Regions from separate parts of the Homo sapiens genome. Here all the other regions are linked to region 1. The links are contacts of gene promoters, found by promoter capture Hi-C in blood cells and fetal thymus (Javierre and others, 2016). All regions are on one chromosome and are shown on one strand. Each heading gives the region's core, a stretch centred on a gene start or on the middle of the fragment in contact. The rest is flanking DNA. Distances are from core to core; before and after follow the strand shown.

What was found. Contacts are between HindIII fragments. The CHiCAGO score rates a contact against its expected background, and 5 or more counts as called.
Region 2: a fragment that was not itself captured here is called in contact with the fragment with the promoter of PSMD1 in region 1 in 2 of 17 cell types (M0 macrophages and endothelial precursors); the score reaches 6.5 in M0 macrophages.
Region 3: a fragment that was not itself captured here is called in contact with the fragment with the promoter of PSMD1 in region 1 in 3 of 17 cell types (M2 macrophages, megakaryocytes and M0 macrophages); the score reaches 6.0 in M2 macrophages.
Region 4: a fragment that was not itself captured here is called in contact with the fragment with the promoter of PSMD1 in region 1 in 2 of 17 cell types (M0 macrophages and erythroblasts); the score reaches 7.1 in M0 macrophages.

Annotation. Positions count from the first base shown.
Region 1 is chr2:231,055,521-231,058,220 of GRCh38, forward strand. PSMD1 (proteasome 26S subunit, non-ATPase 1) reads left to right here and starts at 1,347. Exons shown (of 25, transcript NM_002807.4): 1 at 1,347-1,521. The coding sequence starts at 1,506. It overlaps LOC112268432 (a long non-coding RNA gene), which reads right to left and starts at 2,226. Exons shown (of 2, transcript XR_002959456.2): 1 at 1,817-2,226. RefSeq lists a silencer at 1,248-1,437. The HindIII fragment of the contact is 9,212 bases long and covers 1-2,700 here.
Region 2 is chr2:231,409,918-231,412,783 of GRCh38, forward strand. LOC124907997 (a long non-coding RNA gene) reads left to right here and starts at 2,379. Exons shown (of 2, transcript XR_007088118.1): 1 at 2,379-2,866. RefSeq lists enhancers at 491-1,096, 1,097-1,701 and a silencer at 2,246-2,585. The HindIII fragment of the contact is 485 bases long and covers 1,018-1,502 here.
Region 3 is chr2:231,446,621-231,449,382 of GRCh38, forward strand. No RefSeq gene overlaps it. Among named protein-coding and RNA genes, the nearest start is that of SNORA75, 7.9 kb to the right of the region's middle. The HindIII fragment of the contact is 7,975 bases long and covers 1-2,762 here.
Region 4 is chr2:231,427,867-231,430,601 of GRCh38, forward strand. No RefSeq gene overlaps it. Among named protein-coding and RNA genes, the nearest start is that of SNORA75, 27 kb to the right of the region's middle. The HindIII fragment of the contact is 1,792 bases long and covers 377-2,168 here.

The sequences.
Region 1 (2,700 bases), core at 97-2,596:
CCTGTCTCTACTAAAAATACAAAAATTAGCCGGGTGTGGTGGCATACACCTGTAGTCCCAGCTACTTGGGAGACTGAGCAGGAGAATCGCTTGAACCCAGGAGGCGGAGGTTGCAGTGAGCCGAGATCGCGCCATTGCCCTACAGCCTGGGTGGCAGAGGGACACTCCATCTCAAAAAAAAAAAAAAAGAAGTACCTCTGTAGAATGACACCCCAAGTAATCTGTTTACTTTGCATGCACATCTTCTCGAGCCCTGCCTTTCAATCTGAGCCACAGGCTCTTCAAAAATGTTCAATAATTATATTTAATATATTTTAAACAACCACAGTTTAAGAATTCTAATTTAAACAAAAAAAGTCACAGATACAACAAAATGTGTTATCAAGCACATTTAATTCACTGGCAACCACAAGACATTGATTGTGCCCCTAGGTTACGTAGAAGGCCGTAGAAATGAACTCGCCATCGCTGTGCGATTGAAGAGTTTAGCTTGATAGTGCAAGGCCGGTGGCTGAAAAAAATGCTACCGTTTGCCCTATTCCTTGTCAAGACTTTCTCAGTACTGACTCTTGAAATAAATTGACTTCTTGAAGCTAGCATAAGACTGCAAATGGCCATTGCAACTGCCATTTCAAATTTCTGAAGATGTATTAGAAACGAAGAACCCACTGCCGTCGGGGGAAAGAGGACCTGGGCAGATAGAAGGAAAGAATGGAAGACATTTTTTCTCCCTTGGAAAGGCTTTCGCCATATAACTACTGCACATTTTAATATATTGACAACACTGGACATTTTTCCAAAAGTAAGTAAAAACCTTCATTGTTCAACTTTATAATAAGCCAATGATTACTTGTGGATTCATTATGATAATAAAGCACTTCTATGGGGATTTTCTTTTTTTTATGATAGGTTTTGCTTTAGAAAACAATTGAAAGCCACTTTTCTGGGAAAAAAAACAAAAAACAAAAAAAAACGCTGTTTGCGGCAGCCCCAATTCCCTAAGCATTATCTGGTGGGAGATGTGTTGCAGCGAGACCTCCCACCAGTAGGTGGCACTGCGCGCAATGCTCGCACCTCCCCTCAACACCCTTTCTCTCAGCAATGGCGGGTGATGGTGGGGGTCCTCTCTTTGCAGGGCTGGCCATTCTAATGCCTGACCTCAGGTGCAGACCAGTGTTCCGTTGCGCGGGACTCCTGACCTCGAGGAGGTTTAGAGAAAACAATGGTGTTCTCTGTGTACCCTTCCGCGAGGGCTGGGGAGTATACCGCCGCGCAGAAGACGCAGGCCAGGGGAGAATTCGCGCCGGGCGGCAGGCGGGGTGGCGGGCAGCCCCTGGGCGGGCGGGGTCCTGGCGAGAAGCGAGCCGGCGGCCTGAGGAGGCGACTGACTGAGCAGCGCACCCGGGGAGCAAGGAGGCGCGGTGAACTGAGCGGCCCCTGAGCTGACAGATACACTGCGCAGCTGGAACGGCGAGCGAGCCGACGGGCGAGTGAGGGGCGCAGCCATGATCACCTCGGCCGGTGAGTGCGGCCCGTAGCCAGCGCCTGGAGGGAGGAGCCGCCGCCGCGCCGGCTTTTAGCTGAGTCAGGGCCGGTGACTGGGCGCCTCCCGGCGGAACGCCGGCCTGGGCAGCTTCTTGCTGCCCAGGGCCCACCCCCGGGCCGGGGGGCTGGGAGTCTGATCAGGTCACTGCGTGCTTCTCTGGCTTGAGGGAATCGAGCCGGGTCGACCGCCTCGGCATCCCTCCCCAATCACACCCCAGCGCCAGGACCCGAGGGGCTTCCTGGGCCTTCCCCTGACCCCAGAAGGGCTTACCTTTTTTCTGTGCCTCCCATTCTTGGCCGTGTGAGGTCGTCCAGCCCCAGTTCTTGCCCGCAGGGGGCCGGGGTGGGATGGGCCCCTGTGCCATTGAACAGTAAGGCAAACCCCCCTGATCGGGCAGCCTAACTGCTACAGAAGTGTTTCTGGACGTGGCCGAGCTCCATTCGCCTTAGAATGAAACCCGAAATTAGGTTTGAGGTGGGTCATTTCTGGGTCCGATCCAAGGGTGTTCATTCAAAACACCCAGAGAACTTTTGGGTTCGGCGAAGACCCTAAAGACGCCCTGGAGATACCTTTATACTGAGAGCCTACTTATACCCTTTCGAGGTTATGTGCTCAGTCTGTTGACTGTACATTCAAGAAAGAATGGATGGATCTGCGGAGCAGGTTTCATACGCGCAAACCATTGCATAGGTAGATTCACGTAGTGACATTTGCAATGGAGTAAGTTACAGAGATCAAGTTTCAATTGGAGACTTAAGCTCCCCGTTACAGATTGACTTGCATATAGCTGTCCAGAGCCTTGGTGCTTTTTTCCGTTGCCTATTTACATACCCTTTTCTCATTTTCTTACTCTGTGTTTGACCCACAAAGAAAGCATTTTATTGTAAACAAACTGGTGAGCAGAAGACAGTAATCTGAATGGTAAGGCGATCAAAACTTTATTTTTATGAGGATTGGTTAAGGAGATCGTTGGAGATACTGGGAGACGTAGTTACTTTCAAACATTTGAAGAGCTGTCACTTGTACCTGAAATAAGACTTTTTGTCCCCAAGAGATACAAGTGATCGCGAGATGAATTTTAGTTCAGTATCAGGAAGTTTTTCCAGTCAGAGCTTTGTAAAGATCAAATAAACACTCAGTTTCTTGCCACCTAT
Region 2 (2,866 bases), core at 10-2,509, 350 kb after region 1:
TCCTGAGCACAAAGGGACAAAGAGCAGGGGTTCACGGCAGCCTGAGGGAGCAGAGGGCAGTTTTGAGGCACCTCCACCCCTCCCTCTGGCGCACTTTGGCCCATTCTGGCCAGCTCCAGTGGGGCCCCACTCTGGAAAATCAGGCATTTAGTTTTGCTTCCTGGTAATGATAACAACTGACATTTTATGGAGCACATTTCATATGCCAGGCACCCTGGTAAACATTTAACGTGTAGTCAATATGACTTTAACTCAGGGTACAAATATGGTTACTTTTTAATTTTTCTCATTGATTGCTCAAATCCCTCATGTACCATTATTGGCAGAAAAATCCAATATCAGCCTCTTGGAACCCACTCTCAAATTGTCCAAGAACCTCAGGGATTTCCCTCCTCCAAAGAGAGGGTTCTCTGGAAAGTCTGAGCAGTCATCTCCAGTTGTTCCCTCTCTCTCCACACAGGGGCGCTGTGGAACAGCGGGCCTGCACAGTCCTGTGGCTTCTGAGGCTTGGCTACCTTCACTGCACAGGCTGCGGTGGGGCCTATGCTTCCAAAACAAAGTTACCCTTCTCTCAGTCACCCTCACAAGCTCAACGACCTTTCCCCAGAGAGCAGCAGCATGCCAGGGGTGCTGGGTCCTGTGGCCCCCCAGTCAGCTACACAGTCTGTGGGGGAATCCCACAGACTCAGGTTCTCTCTGGCCTGGTGAAGCAACTTTTTAGACAGTAGATTTTAGTTGGTCCCAGGGTCTTAACTCTTTCCTCCTCAAAGGCCCTGGCTTTGCAAAATGGTTCCCTCCTCCCCGGCAACTGGCTGTGCATTCCAAGGGGCCTTGAAAAGGGGTAGCCTTTGTCAGTCCTCAAAAAGTCCAGTTCCACTCTTCCCCCAGGGTAATGGGTGCCTACTCAGCCACATTTACATAACTAAAGGAGACCACTCAAAGAATCCTACTCTTAACAAAGAAAGCTGTTCCTAGGTGACTTATTCTGTGCACCTAAACTGAGAAGGAGCAGGGGGAAGCTTCTGGAATCCTGTTATACACCATGTTCAAAGTAAGAAATGGAGGGCTCTAAGAGAAGGATCCCACGGCTATTGTGTGACAGGCACGATTTGAACTCTGTGCCCTGCACACCTAACCCCCATACTCTACTGTCTCCCAAGAGCCTCCAGCCTCCCATCCTTTTTCCTTAGCAGTAACTTAGTCACAAATATCTGTGTTTGTTGTTTCTGTCTAAAAGGAGGAAAATGTTATGTCCAATGAGCGATTGAAACTGTGATGGTTGGGGGAGCCCAGCGTTATTAGGGCTGTAAGAAATAAATGTTTCCAGAGAGTTATTTAAGCTATTGTGAAGAAAAACTTTTCTGTTCCAGTGAAACACTATACATTATCTAAAGCACAGCCAGACCTGTCTGCTTCCAGCCCCATTCACGGTCTTTGAGCTATTTTGCACCTCTTTTTAAGTTGCAAGTACTGAGGGCTTTGCAAACTGTCTTGTCAGGTGAAGCTTCCATTGACTTCTCTTCCACCCCCCACCAACACCCCCACGGTGGAAAAACCAGTTTGCCGCTGTTTGCAATTCAATTCCTTCACTCCATATAAATTTGTGCTTTTTGATGTCTCCTTTGAACCAGATATAACATCTACCTTGTCCTTTTTATGAGTAAAATAAATCTTTAATACATGCTCATTTTTTATTTCTGAACAAGGGTCATGAATCTACCTTTTTCTGAAAATTGTCTTTTACCAATTGCCTTTATGTGAAAATGAACACAGATACATTATCGAACAGAATGCAATTTTTGCTTATATTTCTAAAACAAAACTTGAATCTTGGAATACATTGTATACTCACTGAAGACCCTTCCAAAGTGAGCCAAAGCTTAGAGCTCAATCCTTTTAGAGGGTTTTGCCCCCCGGGAATTTGAGAAAATATCTAGTCCAGATCGCAACCAGACAGAATGAATCCGAATGAGTGAGTGGGTGGGGCGCGAGCCCAGGCATTTTTTATCGCTCCCAGGTGACTCAAGTTGGGAACTACCGGCCTGGGCTGGGATTGACTGACCCTGCCGTGCAGCCTGTGACCTATCACAAATCACCTTGGCTTTGTTTTTCCTCGGTGCGGCCGAATCCCACAGGAATGCGTGGAATCCCTGCCCTCACCCATGGCGAAGCTGCCCCCCTCGGGCTCCGCCTGCCCCCCGCGGCTCCTCGTCGCCGGGCAGCCAGGAGCTGCTGGGTGGGCGCGGGCGTCCCGGGGCGCGGTGCGACCCAGAGCCCCTCGCGGAACCCGCCTGGGCTGTGCAGGGGACAACGCGTTCGGCTGTCGAGGGTGGGGGAGCCCTGTGTGTGTGGTGGGGGTGGCATCCGATGGATCCCGGGGGCCTGCGGAGGAGGTGGGCATCTCGGCGCCACCCGGTGCGCGCCCCGAGCGAGGGCATCTCCCCTCGAGACCAGCCCGCGGAGCTGCGCGAGGCGTGGGGTAAGGCGGCGTAGACCTCCCAGTGCCGGCTGCAGGGCCGCGGGTCGGGGCGGGGCCCCGCGAGGAGCAAGGGGCTGGCCGGGCTGGAGGGCTGGGTGAGTCCCCGCCCTGGCAATCCCAGAAGAGGGCAGGGAGCGCCCCCAACTGACCGCCGGGGGCATCGTGACGCTGAGGTGGATGGGAGACTGCACGATTTGAGCAGGTTGTGTGAAATCTGGAACTCCATTACTTGTACCCCAAGGCATCTTTTTTATGCGGATTTAAGCTGGAAAGCGCCACACCAAGCTGTTAACAGGAACTGCTTCCTGGCACTGAGATTCCAGGGGCTGCTCGTTCCTTTCTCTGGCTCATCTGTGTAAGGAAGACTTTCCTCCGTGAGCCTTTCCA
Region 3 (2,762 bases), core at 11-2,510, 390 kb after region 1:
TGGTGGCATGCACCTGTGGTTTCAGCCACTTGAGAGGCTGAGGCAGGAGGATCGCTTGAGCCCTGGAGTTCCAGGCTGCAGCGAGCTACAGTCATGCCACTGCACTCCAGCCTGGGCAGTGGACAACAGAGCAAGACCCTGTCTCTTAAAAAAATAATAATAATAATAATAATCAGTACAATCTATAATGTGATGATACCCCTTCTTTCATTCCTGATAATGGCTATTTGTGTTTTGTCTTCTTTTTTTCTTGATCAGTCTTGCTAGAGGACTATCAATTTTATCTTATTTATCCTTTCAGTGAACTGATTTTTGTCTTGATTTTTTTACATCATTAATTGTTATTTTTATTATTTCCTTTTCCTATGTATTTCTTCTTTCTTTTTTACATGCTTAAGCTGGAAACAGACAGTTAACTTTAAAACTCTTTTTCTTTTCTAAAGTATTTTAAGTTATAAATTTCCATCTAAGAACTGCTTTAGCTGCATCCCAAAATGTGTTTTTATTGTCATTCATTTTGAAATAGTATCTAATTTCTCCCGTGATTTCTACTTTGATCCATTCAGAAGTGTTTTTCAGAAATGTAATTAATATACAAATGTTTAGGAGTATTCTAGGTATCTTATTATTCATTTCTAATTTATTTCTGTTATATCAGATTGTATATTTTCCAATCCTTTGAAATTTCTTGAGATTTGTTTTGGAGCCTAGAATATTTTGGTGAATGTTTTATGTGCACGTGAAAAGAAGATGTGTTTTTCAATAGCTAGACCTAAATGACCAACAGTTTTCAATTCTTCTATATCATTATTGATGTTTGTCTATTTACTTTATCTGTTACTAAATGAGGGGTGTTAAAATCTCCAACTGTGATTGAAAATTTGTCCATTTCTCTTTATCAATTTTTTGCTTCACAGGTTATAAAACTCTGTTATTGTTTGCATGCACATTTAAGATTGCTATGTCTTTCTAGTAAATTTACCTTTTTTTCATTATGAAATGTTGCTCTGGGCCGGGCGCAGTGGCTCACGCCTGTAATCCTAGCACTTTGGGAAGCCGAGGCAGGCGGATCACGAGGTCAGGAGATTGAGACCATCCTGGCTAACATGGTGAAAACCCGTCTGTACTAAAAATACAAAAAATTAACTGGGTGTGGTGGCGGGCGCCTGTAGTCCCAGCTACTCAGGAGGCTGAGACAGGAGAATCGCTTGAACCTAGGAGATGGAGGTTGCAGTGAGCCACTGCACTCCAGCCTGGGTGACAGCAAGACTCCGTCTCAGAAAGAAAGGTTGCTCTGGCCAGGTGTGGTGGCTCACACCAATAATCCCAGCACTTTGGGAGTCTGAGGCGGGAGATCACTTGAGCCCAGGCGTTTGAGACCAGCCTGGGCAACATAGCAAGACCCTGTCTCTATTAAAGAAAAAATTAAAAGAAAAAAGGAATTTGAAGGCAATTTCTATGCAGATTTTATGGTTTCCTCCTCTGTGTCTCCCTCATTTTCATTATTTCCCAAAATTTCCGACTCACACTCCAACCTGATTCCTCAGCACAGTAAGACATCCACTTTCTGCTCTATTCCCCCGGAGTCACGCAAGTTGGGTGATGCCCTCAGGGGAAAAGCTGGTTAAACATGGGTCTCATCCAGTGTGCTTCCCTTCTTTCCAGGATCGATACCATCTTCCCTGGGTTGCTCCAGTTTTCTATCTGGTATTATTGGAAGACAAATCAACTTTAGAAGTTGATCTTTAAATATTTCGCCCAGGGCCTGGTGCGATGGTTAATGCCTGTAATCCCAGCACTTTGGGAGGCTGAGGCAGGCGAATCACCTGAGGTCAGGAGTTTGAGACAGACTCGCCAGCATGATAAGACCTTGTCTCTACTAAAAGTACAAAAAATTAGCCAGGCGTGGTGGCACATGCCTGTAGTCCCAGCTACTCAGGAGGCTGAGGTAGGAGAATTGCTTGAACCTGGGCGGTAGAGGTTGCCGTGAGCTGAGATTGTGCCACTGCACTTCAGCCTGGGTGACAGAGAGAGACTCCATCTTCAAAAATAAAAATTAAAAAATAAAAAACTAAAAATAAAATAAATAAATAGTTTACCCAGAGTTTTTTTGTTTTGTTTTTTTTGAGACAGGCCTCCCTCTGTTGCCCAGGCTAGAGCGTAGTGGTGCAATCACAGCTCACTGCAGCCTCAACCTCCCCAGTGGCTCAGGTGATCCTCCCACTTTAGTCTCCCTAGTAGCTGGGACTATAAGAGCGTGACACCATGCCTGGCTAATTTTTTTTTTTTTTTTTTTTTTTATATATATAAGGTCTTGCTCTGTTGCCCAGGCTGGAGTACAGTGGTGCAATCTAGGCTCACTGCAACCTCTGCCTCCCAGGTTCCAGCGATTCTCCTGCCTCGGCTTCCCGAGTAACTGGGCCTACAAGCATACGCCACCATGCCCGGTTAATTTTTGTATTTTTAGTAGAGGTGAGGTTTCACCATGTTGACCAGGTTCGTCTTGAACTCCTGACCTCAGGTAATCCGCCCGCCTTGGCCTCCCAAAGTGCTGGGATTACAGGTGTGAGCCACTGCGCCAGGCCCGCCTGGCTAATTTTTGTATTTTTTGTAGAGACAGAGTTTCACCATGTTACCCAGGCTGGTATCAAACTCGGGGGCTCAAGCAATCCGCAGATCTTGGCCTCCCAAAGTGCTAGGATTACAGGTATAAGCCACCTGTCTGGCCTAACCAGAGTTTATAATTGTCATCAACAGAAGGA
Region 4 (2,735 bases), core at 23-2,522, 370 kb after region 1:
AGACACTGAAGTTAATATACAGTTGATTCATTAATTTTTTTTTTTTAGATGCAGTTTTACTCTTGTTGCCCAGGTTGGAGTACAATGACATGATCTTGGCTCACTGCAACCTCCGCCTCCCAGGTTCAAGCCATTCTCCTGCCTCAGCCTGCTGAATAGCTGGGATTACAGGCATGTGCCACCATGCCCAGCTAATTTTTTGTAGTTTTTAGTAGAGATGGGGTTTCACCATGTTGGCCAGGCTGGTCTAACTCCTGACCTCAGGTGATCCTCCTGCCTCGGCCTCCTAAAGTGCCAGAATTACAGACATGAGCCACCACGCCCAGCCTGATTCATTAATATTGGACTCACGGCACCATAACTCACACCTGAATGAAGCTTCTCCAACGCACAGATTTTCTCCCTATAGCACATCACATCCTTCTTGCTCTTAGGAGCACCAGAAAGCTCATCAGCAGTTCACTTGGGGGCCACATGAAGCAAGAAAACCAGCAACAAAAAGCACAAAATACAAAAAAAGTGGCACTGGCTGGGCGTGGTGGCTCACGCCTGTAATCCCTGCACTTTGGGAGGCTGAGGCAGGCAGATCACAAGGTTAGGAGTTCAAGACCAGCCTGGCCAACATGGTGAAACCCCATCTCTACTAAAAATACAAAAATTAGCCGAGTGTGGTGACACGCACCTGTAGTCTCAGCTACTCGGGAGGCTGAGGCAGGAGAATTGCTTGAACCTGGGAGGCAGAGGTTGCAGTGAGCCGAGATCGCGCCATTGCACTCTAGCTCTGGGCGACAGAGCGAGACTCTGTCTCAAAAAAAAAAAAAAAAGTGGCACTAAATAGACCACCAAAAGGACACATGTTTACAGTGTGAGAGCTGAAACAAGAAGGCAGGCTCAGCCGGGCATGGTGGCCCACGCCTGTAATCCCAGCACTTTGAGGCAGGTGGATCACGAGGTCAGGAGTTCCAGACCAGCCTGGCCAAGATGGTGAAACTCCGTCTCTACTAAAAATACAAAAATTAGCTGGGTGTGGTGGCGCATGCCTATAATCCCAGCTACTCGGGAGGCTGAGGCAGGAGAATCGCTTGAGCCAGGGAGGCAGAGGTTGCAGTGAGTCGAGATCGTGCCACTGCACTCCAGCCTGAGCGACAGAGTGAGACTCCATCTCAAAAAAAAAAAAAAAAAAGAATGACATGGACACATATGGAGTAGTTTTAAGGAGCGGAGAGTTTAGTAGGCAAGAAGAAAGGGAGAAGACAGAAAGAAGCTCCCCCATACAGAGACAGAAGGAGGGGGGCTCCAAAGTCCAAAGAGGGAACCCCAAGTGTGGTGGATACCAGCCAGGTATATGTAGAGGCTGGAGGAAGCAGTGTTTGATTTGCATAGGGCTCAGGGGATTGGTTTGACCAGGCATGTCATTCATGCAGCCCGTGAAAAAGCTGGCCCTCCCACCCTAGCCTTTTAATATGCAAACGCAGGGTGCCATGATGTTCTACACACATGGGGATATGTAGGGGTGGCCATGTTGCCAGGAACATGTGGGGCAAGGGCAAGAAGTTCGCAGGAATCGCCATGTTTGGGTGGACCCAGTTTCTAATGGCCTTCATTTGCATATCAAAGGTTGCCGGCCTGGCTCTAAGAGCTGCTTTAAAAACGAAAACTTCCCAGGGACCCCTTTTCCTCTCTTATCTGCCTAAAATAATTTCTTAACTCCTACAACACTATCATACCACATTACAGTTGTAGTATTGAAGAAAGAGACATATGATAAATACGTATTATCCAGTTTCAGTTTTGGCAATGAACATGACAGTCCACAAAAGCCACCATGTTTTTTGTGCTGAAAAATTCTTGTGAATGGAAGAAGGAAACCAGCAAAATGAAAAGGATCCCTTCTGAAAATGCATTTAAAGATGCAAGGGTTTTTTTGTGTAAGGAAAGCTCAATTCAAAAATAGCTGGGGCCAGGTGTAAGGGGCTCACACCTGTAATCACAACATTTTGGAGTGCCAAAGTGGGAGGACAGCTCGAGGCCAGGAGTTCGAGACCTACCTGGGCAACATAGCAAGACCCTATCTCTTTAAAAAAAAGAGAGAGAGAGTTGGAGCACTTGATTTTTGTCAAGCACATCTGTGTGAAGAGACCAGCAAGCAGACTTTGTGCGAGGAATAAAGCTTTTTAATCACCTGGGTGCAGGCAGACTGACTCTGAAAAAGCAGTCAGCGAAGGGAGATAAGAAAGGGGCAGCTTTATAGGGTTTGGGTAGGCAGTGGAAAGTTACAGTTAAAGGTGGTTATCTATTGTTAGCAGAGGAGGGGGTCCCAAGGTGCATGGTGTAGAGATCATGGGACTCATTGTCCAGAAGAAGAATGTCCCAGGGTCAATTGATCAGCTGGGGCAGGGCAGGAAAAAGTCATAATGGTAGAATGTCATAAGGTGGATTAATTAGTTAAGGCAGGAACTGGCTGTTTCACTTCTTTGTGATTTTTCGTCTGCTCTAGACTTCTTGGCTCCTGCAGGCCATCTGGACTTATATGTGCAGGTCACAGGGGTTATAATGGCTGACTGTCAGGCCTCTGAGCCCAAGCTAAGCCATCATATCCCCTGTGACCTGCACGTATACATCCAGATGGCCTGAAGCAACTGAAGAACCACAGAAGATGACATTCCACCATTGTGATCTGTTCCTGCCCCACCCTAACTGATCAATTGACCTTATGACAATACACCCTCCCCGCC